Regions from separate parts of the Homo sapiens genome. Here region 1 is linked to region 2. Evidence: promoter capture Hi-C in 16 types of primary human blood cells and fetal thymus (Javierre and others, 2016). All regions are on one chromosome and are shown on one strand. The core of a region is centred on a gene start or on the middle of the fragment in contact, and the rest is flanking DNA. Distances in the headings are between cores, read along the strand shown.

Region 1 (5,916 bases), core at 727-3,226, 590 kb after region 2:
GACTTCCCTTAGACTTTAACAAAACGCACCATAGAACAGTGCCCAGCTTGGAGAGGTCTGTGGTCATCAGGGAAAGAGGGACTGAAGAAGACAAGGGGCTGTGGAGTGGATGCAGGGTGTAGGTGGGGTAGATGTACTGCTATAGGGAGAGAAGAAAGGTGGTTTCAGCTCAGGGCAGTTCTGGGGAAGGAAAAAGAAGACCTGATCTATGAATGGCAGAGTGCAGGCAGCAGCCCAAGACACACTCCACTGACTTCAGATGTCAGGTTCCTTCCCACAAACTCTGAACTATCCTGCCTACCTCGCCTCCTCCTGATTTGTATAGAGAAGTGGTCCCAACTGTCAGGCATGTGTCTGGCCACTCTCTACACCTCGCCAGCCTTCTCTCACTGGACTCTCCATTTCCCTTTCATCCCCTGAGCTTCCTGGCACCCTTGTCCCTGCCTCCCGTTCTCCAGGACTCATCTCCTGTAACCCTTCAACTCCAGTTCTCCCAGTGACAAAGAGCCAATTCTATCAATTCTTACTAGCAGCCTGCTAGTCTCCAGAAGAAATACTCTTAGCAAAATCTGAGATAAAATCTAATCCCTGCCTAGGCCTAAAACCATGAAATATTATCAAAACTCTACATAAGGCTTACAAACTATTAAGACCAAAAGCACAAATACAGAGATAGATGCACTCTCTTCCAGTACAGAAACTGCCACTTTCAGCTTCCTTAGATTTTAAATTTTGGCCTCATCTTTATTTGCCTGATTTCATTCCTTTGAGATATAGTTGGTATTTGCAAATACAGGAAGTGTCTAACTTTTGCTTGATTTAAATAAAGTTTTAAAACCCTGAACAAATATAGTAGTACCCCATGTAAACTATAGCGTCGACTTCTAAAGTTTGAATACAATTCCAATACTCTGTTAAGTTGGCTTATATTATGTCACGGCTAAAAGAGAATTCCCCTCACAAATGCAGTTACTATTTAGTGGGAGATTCTGTAAAACTCAGCGTCAACAAAGCTCTTCCAGTTATGTCTCCTGCTTCTGGGACGGCCAGGACCTCTCCTGTACCACCCCTTCCTCTCCCTTTCCCCCAAAGGCACCTTTCAGAATTACTCTGAATGATGGAGCCCATTTTTTTCTAGAACTATAGGAAAGCTGCTTGGTAACTATGGTAACGAATACAAAAATGTTTTTTACTTATAATTGAATGCTTATTTAAAATTACAAGTATTATTTTTTCTTCCTTGAGTTTTAAGTCTATTAATGGGTTTGATTACAAAAAAGAAATCAGTACAAAGGCATCAGAAGTACTTAAAATATTCTAGTTTAATGCCGCCAGCCTTTTCCAAACTCAGTCCATCAGTATACCAAAATGACCTACTAAAATTTCAAATGAAAGGATTTAAAATGAATTTAAATATTTGCCTTTCTAACCCTATACGTCAACGCTGTAACAAGCTAAGACTGTTTCTCAGTGTTAGCAGCCTTGGCCATAACAGGCCCGAGGCAGATGTCCTAGTTTCCAGGCCAGGGTGTCTAGGACGTGACTGGTTATCAGCTCAGAGCAGCACTTGGAACTCACAAGGGACCCGGGCTAAGGAGATATTAAATCTTAAATCTTAGATATTAGATATTACAACTGAGAACTGTAATCAACATGATATACAGAGGACACTGAAGAGACGTACAACTCAGTTCCTGATGATTATCATATGCCCAAAAGCTAAGTCACGACCACATGCACAGACACAGAAACAATGCTGGCCACTGTCTACAAAAGGGTCTTCATTCAACACTCTCACGGTGTTCAAGACCATTAGAGGACAAGATAGTGGAGATGAAAAAATGATGAGGAAGTTACTATGTAAATAGCCAAGACACAGCCATAACTTAAGACAACAGAAGGGCTAGTGAAAAAAAAAAAAAAGACCACAGGGAATAATCAGTAAGACTTTAAAGAACAACATATAAGAAGGATTCAAAGTTCGAAGTGGGATGATCACGGGCAGACCTGGGTGGTTGGGAACAGGAAGCATATGGCATCTTGCAGGCTATAGGCACCACAAAATGGAACGCAGGAGGACAGGGGCTTGGGAGAGCCACTTCACTGTCGGGTAAAACAACGGAGCAAGATGAGTGCCTCCGGATGCTTGGTTTCCCCACCCTCCAGTGTCTGCTTGCTCTTCAAGTACCTCCACCAAGCTAATGACAGTCCACTTTAGGACATCACGGGCCTCGAGGTTACAACTTTCCCAGGTAAGGAGAATCCCAGGTAGAGGCAGCAAGTCACTGATGCCTGTGATATGATAATTATGCATGTCATAGAAAAAGAAAATACTGACAAATGTGAATGTAGATCACATTTTCTGGAATTGGTTCACTCTACCTGTGATCCATGTCCAAAAGCCAATTTAAGGAAAGAATTTCCACTGTAAAACCTTAAAGCTGACAGCATTCTAAGTATTTCAAACCAACTGGTTCAATAAAGATCAACTACACGGTCAGTACCTATCCTAAAGTTTACAATTTGTGTTATTGTAACAATATTTATTTCTGCAGAAGTTCTGTCCTCACCCTTTTTTCTTCCTACAGATCTTTGTTTTTTTCTCTTTCTTCTTGGGATCATAAAAAAAGAACAGATTTTAAACAGTCACATAGTGTTTCCTCTCAGAGCAGATGTGGTAGGAAGAACTGAGGCCAAGAGAATGACAGCAAACTCAGATCACAAGAGAAATAAGACTAAGAAATGTGGTGAGGGGGATGAAGAGTTTTTTTACTGTGTAAATTATGTAAATGTACATATGTATGTATGTAAATTACACCTATTAGTAATAACAACAACAAGATGAGTCAGTGTCTCTTGGTCCCAAGAGATTAAACAATTTCAGGGAGATGCACGTGTAATCCTCAAGAAAGCACAAATGGAACAAGAACTGACAATTGTTGTATAAAGGTTTTCTGTTACATTTAATCTGGAGTTCCTGGATGATCAGAGGGAAAAGACCTTCCTAAAACTAGGCCTTTTCCACAAACCACGCCCTTGGTGTCTGTGAAGCAGCAGCATCTGGACGTGCCCTGTGTTTCCTGTCCCGGGCTGTGCTCCCGCTTGGGTTTGTGGATGTGGCAGGAGCTGCCTGAGGCAGCTTCGAGGCTGCCCAGCCGGGCCATGGGTGTGGCAGCACATTGGCAACTGCCAGGGTCTGGACCCCAGCGCTGCAGGTCCTGAGCAACTCCCGTCCCTCAGAGAGAAGACAGGACCTCAGAGAGGCTCTCAATCTAAACAAACTCAGAAGGCACTTGATAAATGCTGCTAGTAATATTATTAAAAGACTGAGAAATAGAACATGCATACAAATATAGTAATTCATAATAAACCATAATTATCAAACGGACTAGACATCACACTGAAGATGCTTGGTCAGTACATTCGTATATTCATAGCTGATACTGTTAATTTCCTAAGGCTGGGACAGAAGAAGAACATTATTTTAGGATTAGGTCAAATCACTTTAAATTTGTAGGGCTGGAACAGGTAACTATTTTATCTTACTCTGAACTGTCATTATTTTCAAGATTGAATGGAAAGCAAAGAAGAAAAAACATTTGTATTAGGGTTCTCTAGAGGGACAGAACTAATGGAATATATATATATGAGTTTATTAAATATAAATATTAAATATATTTATATATAATATAAATATATATTATATATAATATATAATATATATTTAATATATAATATGTAAATATTAAATATATATATAAAGAAGAGTTTATTAAGTATTAACTCACATGATCACAAGGTCCCACAATAGGCCATCTGCAGGCTGAGAAGCAAGGAGAGCCAGTCCAAGTTCCAAAACTGAAGAACTTGGGAGTCCAATGTTTGAGGATAGGAAGCATCCAGCACGTGAGAAAAGATGTGGGCTGGGAGGCTAAGCCAGTCTCTCTTTTCACATTTTTCTGCCCACTTATATTCTAGCTGAGCCGGCAGCTGATTAGATGGTGCCCACCCAGATTGAGGGCGGGTCTACCTTCCCCACCTCACTGACTCAAATGTTAATCTCCTTTGACAACACCCTCACAGATACACCCAGGATCAATACTTTGTATCCTTCAATCCAATCAAGTTGACACTCAGTGTTAACCATCACAACATTTTTTTTAAAATTCAGAACCCCAACTTTTCATTAGAATTAAATGGACAGCATTTGAAAAATACAAGGATGGGGCTCCATCCCAGAAAATTAAATAAAAGCCACTGGGTTGGGCCTGAGCCTCTTGGGGCTTTTCCAAAGCCCTCGTGTGGGCAGAAATGAGAATCACAGGTTTGGGGAACAATCCTAGTTGCTTGGGAAAGTATCACACAGTCAACTCAAATCCTGGAGATTAAATTCACTAGAAGTGCAGCTAGAGCCCTGTGACACCCACAAAGCCAGCCTGAGTCCCTGCTGGATACAGCTCACCAGGGGGGATGAAAAGCCAGATACAAACTTCCCCAGTCTCGCTCACAGTTAAGAATGACCAAATGAGGCTGGGCGCTGTGGCTCACACCTGTAATCCCAGCACTTTGGAAGGCCAAAGCGGGCGAATCATGAGGTCAGGAGATCGAGACCATCCTGGCTAACACGGTGAAACCCCGTCTCTACTAAAAAATACAAAAAATTAGCCAGGCGTGGTGGCGGCCGCCTGTAGTCCCCGCTACTTGGGAGGCTGAGGCAGGAGAATGGCGTGAGCCTGGGAGGCGGAGCTTGCAGTGAGCTGAGATCGTGCCACTGCACTCCAGGGTGGGCGACAGAGCGAGACTCCGTCTCAAAAAAAAAAAAAAAAAAAAAAAAAAGAATGACCAAATGAGCCAGTTCTGGAAAGTGAGACATTAAAGCATAGTCTGGGGTGGTGGTGGGAGAGGGGAAGAGAACTCTAGAATACTTTGCTGCCTTTTTTTTTTTTTTTTTGAGACAGAGTCTCACTCTATCGCCCAGGCTGGAGTGCAGTGCAGTGGCATGATCTCGGCTCACTGCAACCTCCACCTCCTGGGTTCAAGCAATTCTCGTGTCTCAGCCTCCTGAGTAGCTGGAAATACAGGTGGGTGGCACCACACCCGGCCAATTTTTGTATTTTTAATAGAGACTGGGTTTCACCATGTTGGCCAGGCTGGTCTCAAACTTCTGGCCGCAAGCAATCCACCTGCCTTGGCCTCCCAAAGTGTTGGGATTATGGGCATGAGCCACCACACCTGGCCGTAGAATATGGTGCTTCTTGATGAAAGGGTCAGCTGAGGCAGCCATCTCATAGCTGTTGAAGTAAACCTAAAATATAGAGACAAATCTCCAAATTCAATGTTTTATTTGGGAAGCAAGAATTGTAAATTAGGGCCTACACACAGACCAGGTGGTCTTCAGTATGTCCAAAGAACAAAAGGAAGGTTGGGAGTTTTATTAGAGAAATGTTATGTGTTGTTTTGAAAGAAAGCTCATTGGCACTAGAGAAGCTTTTGGGTGTGGACAAGCTCTGATTGGTGAGTGACGACAGCAGGTAAAACCAGTCTTAGAGTCACAGTAGGTGGTCCCAGCAGCTACTAGCTAAAACTGGTCTTGGTGTTACAGCAGGCCATTTCAGCAGCTAGGCTTATAGAAAGTGTAAATTTTGGAGCAGGTGCGACAGTGCTATGTGCCCTGAGTGCTTTTTCCTCCTGGCCCCTTGACTCTGATTTAGTTGGGTAAGACAAGAATGACCTAATTTGTATAATCAACCTTCACACAGCCAAGAAAAGTTCAGTTTGAAGGAACAGAAAAACAGAATGAGCTGGAATACTTAAGAAGAGTTTTAAATTGCAGAACTAACCTTGAACAGTACTGACTTTCAAACAATGAGTCCTTATAGTTTAGTCTACTGTTAGATTTTTCTGTAATTTGTCCAC
Region 2 (6,624 bases), core at 367-2,866:
TAGGCTGGGCACAGTGGCTCACATCTGTAATCTCACCACTTTGGGAGGCTGAGGCGGGCGAATCACTTGAGCCTAGGAGTTAGAGACCAGCCTGGGCAAGATAGTGAAACCCTGTCTCTATAAAAAAATACAAAAATTGGCCGGGCGCGGTGGCTCACGCCTGTAATTCCAGCACTTTGGGAGGCCGAGGCGGGTGAATCACTTGAGCCTAGGAATTAGAAACCAGCCTGGGCAACATAATGAAACCTTGTCTCTACAAAAAAATACAAAAGTTGGCTGGGCACACCAGCTACTCAGGAGGCTGAGGTGGGAGGATTCCTTGAGCCCAGGAGGTAAAGACTGCAGTGAGCCGTGATCACACCACTGCCCTCCAGCCTGGGTGACAGAGTGAGACCCTGTCTCAACAACAACAAAAAGACATTAAAGACATAGTAATGCTTACAGAAGTTATGTTATGTTTTTAACATTGGCATTTCAGGAGTTAAATGCAGATGGCAGCGGTTCCGAGGAAGAGAGGAAGTGCTAATAGCCTCATTTTATAAAGTGACCTGTGATGATTCTAGAAAGAAAAGTAAAAGCAAGTTACTAATATGCTAAATTAGCACAATTCATGGGATGTGATCAAAATGTGCTTTATTTTTCCATTGCTCCTTGCAAATGTCTTCAGTGATGTTCCACTTCTCCTGCTCCAGATGACATCTTGGACTAATCCCGTGACATTTCTGTTCACTGCCAGGTAATAGACTTACCACTGTTATAACTGCCCAACAGGTTCTGGTAGATGCCTAAAACTGTCTCTTTCTTTCATGGCACTTGCAGAGGCTGACCCAGGAGGGTCTCTCTGGGTGAAGTACCTAGGATGTGAGTGGTGCGTCACCTTCAGCTGACCTCTCTCCACTCAACCCTTGGTCCTCTAGCAACTCACTTAACAAGGAGGCTGATTATTTGCATCCATCACATTCCCAGTCTGTCCTCTTAGGCAGGACTTTAAGTGGCTCCAGGGTTCACTCTGCCATGTGGTCCACAAACACTCATGCTCCTATTAAGTGGCCACTGGAGGAGAATGCAGTTATTCCTGAGCGCAACAGCCACCCTCTCGGATTCCATCATCCAAGCTGCTTTCTGGCTCACCATCTAACCTTTGTTGACCTTCAGACTTGATAGGAATAGGAATTAGATACTAGTCCACTCTGTCCCTCAAATCCCCGGGGATACTTTGGGAGCCTCCCCATTTGGTCCAGGGAAAGTCCATGCTTATTTTGAGGAAATGAGGCAGGCGATCTCTGTCTCAGCCCCTTGGTGGGATATGTGGATGAGGCTCACAGTCAACCTTCTCCAAAGAAACCTTCCTCGAACAATGCTCTCATCCTCTCCACTCCAGCGCTTCTATATTCTCCATGAAGTAGTGGGTAAAGAGGAGCTTGAGAGTCATTAAACCGGATGTTGACCATTTCCTTTGTAATCTGCATACAGGACTTGGCTTCACATCCATTTTGGCATATATCTTACTGGCACCTCAGTCAAAATGAAGAGAGGAAGCATCCCACTTTCCCTACTGTTAGGAGTACATTGCTTCAGGTTATGATTACAGCAAATAGAACAACCAACGGTCTCAAATGTAAATGCAAACCATGGCAGGCAGCTAAACCCATGCATGAAACACACTCTGATGTGAGAAAGACTATTGGACTTGCTTTGTCAATTTGTAATTTTCCCACATGGGTACGGGGAAATATTTTGTTTGCTATAAGAAAAGAAAGAGGCCGGGCATGGTGGCTCACGCCTGTAATCCCAGCACTTTGGGAGGCCAAGGCAGGTGGATCACAAGGTCAGGAGTTCAAGACCAGCCTGGCTAAGATGGTGAAACCCCGTCTCTACTAAAAATACAAAAAATTAGCCAGGCGTGGTGGCGGGCGCCTGTAATCCCAGCTACTCGGGAGGCTGAGGCAGAGAATTCCTCGAATCCGGGAGGTGCAGGTTGCAGTGAGCCAAGATCGCGCCACTGCACTCCAGCCTTGGCGACAGACCAAGACTCCATCTCAAAAAAAAAAAAAGAAAAGAAAGAGACCAATGATGAGAAATGTCAATTTACACTCAGCCTCAGCACTAAAGAGCAGTAAGGAGTGGGGACATCTGGGGAAACTGGAAATCTGAGGGACCGACAGTCGTTATTCAGCTCAGGTCAACAGCTGCCATAAAAGAATGCAAACCTCATTTAAATATTTGAGGATTTTTCAAGAGAAGTAGGAAAATCTATATTTTTTTATTTAACTTGATCCTTTAAATGTTGGCTCAAACGTTTTTTCAACAGCATGCAGGCCAAACAACACTACCCATCTATACCCTCTACAAGACAGACACAAAAATAGTGAGCTGAAAACTCATGTATCAGAGCAGAAAGTCAGTAAATATTTATTTAAATTGATGCCTTTACAGATAGTGATTTTAGCACAGTACTTAGACCTGTGAAGAAAACTGAAAGAACAAAAAGCTGAATGAGTTAAAAGTGGTTATCTTTAAGGACAGCGTAAGAAAGACTATAGTTTTTATTATTTATACTATTTTTTGTTGTTTAAATTTTGTTATTACCTTAAGAAAAAAAATTAAAAAGGAATCAAAAATCTCTCCACAAAAACCCAACTCTGGTTTGACTTCCTTAGCTGGAACCTGTATTTCTATCATCAGACAACAGAAACCATTGCATTCCTGCTGCACCGAGGCCATAACAGCAACTCCACCAGCTTTGCAGAAATGATAACTGTGCAAGGTTCATCAAGTTCTGTGACCAGCTTCGGTGTCTGTAGCCTCCTGTCCCACACTGGGTTGCTCAATATCTTGTTCTTTGCACATACCTAATTCTTCCTGGCAGCTCAGAGAGGGTGTTGACCATATCTGAGGACTTGCAGAGCATGTCCCCAACTCAAGGACCACATGGAGCAGCCTGGAGGCCTCCTCCAGCCCCAGCCAATATCCAGTGACTACACGGGATTTTATCACTGAGCTTTCTGTCACCTCCCACTGCCCCCGCTTCATTAATCTAACACCATCCTTGTGGCTACATCTCTACTCACAAAACCCTCTGAGACAGCCACAACCACCCCCATTCACACCCCTAGAATACCTTTGTCTCCGTGGGTTCTCCATCCAGATTACACAAGCACAAGTTTGTATCCTCCATCTTGCAGAACCTCTCCCCAATCCTTGGAACAAGAGTCATTTGTCCTCAGCTTTCTTCCAACAAAAAGATGGCCCAGAAAGATGGTCCAGAGATTACTCCTATCCCAGAATGATATAAACTACAAGATTTTTGTTTTAATAAAAATAGCTGGGCTAGGCACCGTGGCTCACGCCTGTAATCCCCACACTTTGGGAGGCCAAGGTGGGTGGATCAGGAGTTGACGTCAGGAGTTCAAGACCAGCCTGGCCAACACAGTGAACCCTCGTCTCTACTGAAAATACAAAAATTAGCCAGGTGTGGTGGTGGGCGCCTGTAATCCCAGCTACTTGGGAGGCTGAGACGGGGAGAATTGCTTGAACCTGGGAGACAGAGGCTGCAGTGAGCCGAGATCGCATCACTGCACTCCAGCCTGGGTGACAGAGCGAGACTCCATCTCAAAGAAATAAAATCAAATAGCTAACAGTTGTTGAGTGTTTTACTTCACACTGGGTATTGTTCTAATCTCTGTGGTTTAGGTACATTTATCTCCATTTTAAGCCAAGGAAACTGAGGCACAGAAAAGTTAAGTAACCTGCTCAAAGCAAAAACTTAGTAATTGGCAAAGCATTTGTGTTGTTTTTGTTGTTGCTATTGTTGTTGTTGTTTGAGACAGGGTCTCACTCTGTCACCCAGGCTGGAGTACAATGGTGTGATCATGGCTCATTGCAGCCCCAGCCTTCCCGAGCTCAAGCAATTCTCCTACCTCAGCCTCCTAAGTAGCTGGGACGACAAGCGTGTACCACCATGCCTGGCTAATTTTTTTTTTTTTTTTGTACTTTTTGTAGAGTTGGGGTTTCGCCATTTTGCCAGGCTGGCCTCCAACTCCTGAGTTCAAGCAATCCTCCTGCCTTAGCTTCCCAAAGTGTTGAGATTACAAGCATGAGCCATCATGCCTGGCCACAAAGCCTTTGTTTTAACCCTGCTTCGACTCCAGATCCTGTGCTCTTACTACTAAAATTATATAGTATTTCAATATCAAACAGCCCATGAATGCAAAACGATACACCCATAAAATAGGATGTAATCGCCAAAATCTAATTCTATTGCATCTAGAAGATCTTTATCCACAGTGAAAAGAGTTGAACATCATTGACAGGTTTGAATACATTCAATATTTATACTCTTACCTCCCCCCACCATTACAAATTGTCTAAATGGCATTCTAAGCCTTTATGAATTCAATTAAAAAGAAAAATGCCAAGGCCTGCTCGCTAGAGGTCGCTCTCCTAACTATGGGGTCCTGTTAGTCTTATAGAGTAAGACAGCAGAGTAGGCCAAGAAAGTGATGGCAGCAGCCATCAGTGTGACCAGCAGATGGCATTAGAGTCCCACAGATCCTGAGATTGAGCCATAGCTAAGCAACTTCACTAGGCATACCACATCTGTCAAGGCAGGTTATGCTAAGCTTATTATTTTCACAAACGTTTAAATATAACGCTATTTGGTTGTCAAGATAGTCCACCCAAAACTCATACACAACTCATCTTCTGGGAAAACAGAATAAGTAAGATGTGTTGCTAGAAATAAGGTAGTGAAGGAAAAAAATAAGAGGATTGATTGACAGGAATGAAAACTCAGACTGGATTTTGAGGCTGTTTCTGGATGGCTTCCACCAAAAACCATAGACCCATCTAAGATCAGGGATACAAGGAGGGCTCATGGCTTCCAGCATTTTCCATTGGCCCTCAGCAAGGTGCTCCCCAAGATCAGCGGTCAAGAGAGGTGGTCAATACACACCAGGTTACGTGAGGACTTGGTTATTCTAGAGGAACCCAGAACACAAGTCCATGGCCTTTTCAACCATGTTAGGCGTTGGAGGCCACGTCAGCCCCCATGGATCCACTCTACAACTTTATAAAGAATTTGTTAGGCACCAGTGGCTTGCTTCAGAGTTCTAGTTCCTATGCTGTCAGGGAGTCTACAGCATCCCTATCCACAACTTACCTCCAGGATTTTGCTTAATTTCTGTGGAAAGCGATCTCAACTTCCCAGTTCACACACAGATGCAACCAGCATGAGACATTCCTAGAAATCAACAACCTTTGGTGACTGGTCTATCTCATGCTATTCTACATACTGCTTGCTCACTTCACAAATACGACATTCCAAGAGCACAAGGCTATCTGGTAAGGATGAGTATGGAGATAAATATTAACATCTTTTTACTGTGATGATTTAGCTGGAATAATTAAAACTTATATTTCCACTTATGAAGACTCTGCCTTTTGTTTTTTTAATAGAGATGGAGTCTCGCCATGTTGCCCAGGCTGGTCTCGAATTTCTGGGATCAGGCAATCCTTCTGCCTCGGTGGTAAGATTACAGGTGTGAGCCACCGTGCTCGACCTGAAGATTCTGTTTTACCGCAAGTAAAACCTACCCCCCTTTATCAACACTGTAGAGACTGTTAATAAGTGGCGCTTCTCAGAGCCAAGTACTGAGAGCAACAGTCACATCTTGAATGATGACCGAGACCAGCAACAAGTACTTCTACTTGTATTTTTACTGACTTTAGTTTAAAAATTTTTACTCATTTTAGTTTTAAAAGTATGTCTTTTTAAAGATATATATACATTTAAAGTATATCTTTTTTAACATATACTTTTATATCTTGAGATGTAAACCGAGAAAGGTGAAAGCACTAAGGAAAACCACTTTTTAGGCAGGCTGGGGTACTTAGAATAGACCATTCATAGAAGAAAGATTTAAAGGAACCAGAGAGCTCAACCCAAGAGACAGAACACATATCTGGACTTGTTTGTGCACATCTTCTGAATGCCTTTGTAGAGGACTTCCCTTCTCCTTGAACTGTTCTCTCTAACTCCTTGTTCTGCCTATAAATCCTACTCATCATTTAAAGTTTTTGTTGTTGTTGTTGATTTTGTTGTTGTTGTTGTTTTTGTTTTTGAGACAGGGTCTCGCTCAGTCGTCCAGGCTGGAGTGCAGTGGCTCGATCTCAGCTCACTGCAACCTCCGTCTCCCGGGTTCAAGCAATTCTCCTGCCTCAGCCTCCTCAGTAGCTGGGATCACAGGCACACACCACCATGCCCAGTTAATTTTTCTGTTTTTAGTAGAGATAGGCTTTTGCCATGTTGGCCAGGCTGGTCTTGAACTCCTGGTCTCAAGTGATCCACCCCTCCTTGGCCTCCCAAAGTGCTGGGATTACAGGCATGAGTCACCATGCCTGGCCTAACGTTAAATTTAAATAGTTCCTCCCCTGTAAAATATTCTCCAACCTCCTCAACCACGGTCAGAATCAACAGCTCCAACGTCTCACCCCTCAGTATGTTTTACAAATTGCCATCATTTGTAAAAATCTATCCCATAGTAATAAAAGCGAACAAAGTGCCATTATTAAAGAGTTTATCAATTAAGTCATTGTCAGGCAGGTGACTTGCTGCAGTGGGCT

What was found. Contacts are between HindIII fragments. The CHiCAGO score rates a contact against its expected background, and 5 or more counts as called.
Region 1: a contact is called between the fragment with the promoter of CLDN20 here and a fragment that was not itself captured in region 2, in 3 of 17 cell types (M0 macrophages, total B cells and endothelial precursors). The highest score is 5.5, in M0 macrophages.

The regions. Positions count from the first base shown.
Region 1 is chr6:155,262,037-155,267,952 of GRCh38, forward strand. It overlaps CLDN20 (claudin 20), which reads left to right and starts at 1,977. Exons shown (of 2, transcript NM_001001346.3): 1 at 1,977-2,252. All of the region lies in intron 5 of TFB1M (transcription factor B1, mitochondrial), which reads right to left. The HindIII fragment of the contact is 9,121 bases long and covers 1-5,485 here.
Region 2 is chr6:154,671,276-154,677,899 of GRCh38, forward strand. No RefSeq gene overlaps it. Among named protein-coding and RNA genes, the nearest start is that of SCAF8, 59 kb to the right of the region's middle. The HindIII fragment of the contact is 6,007 bases long and covers 1-4,620 here.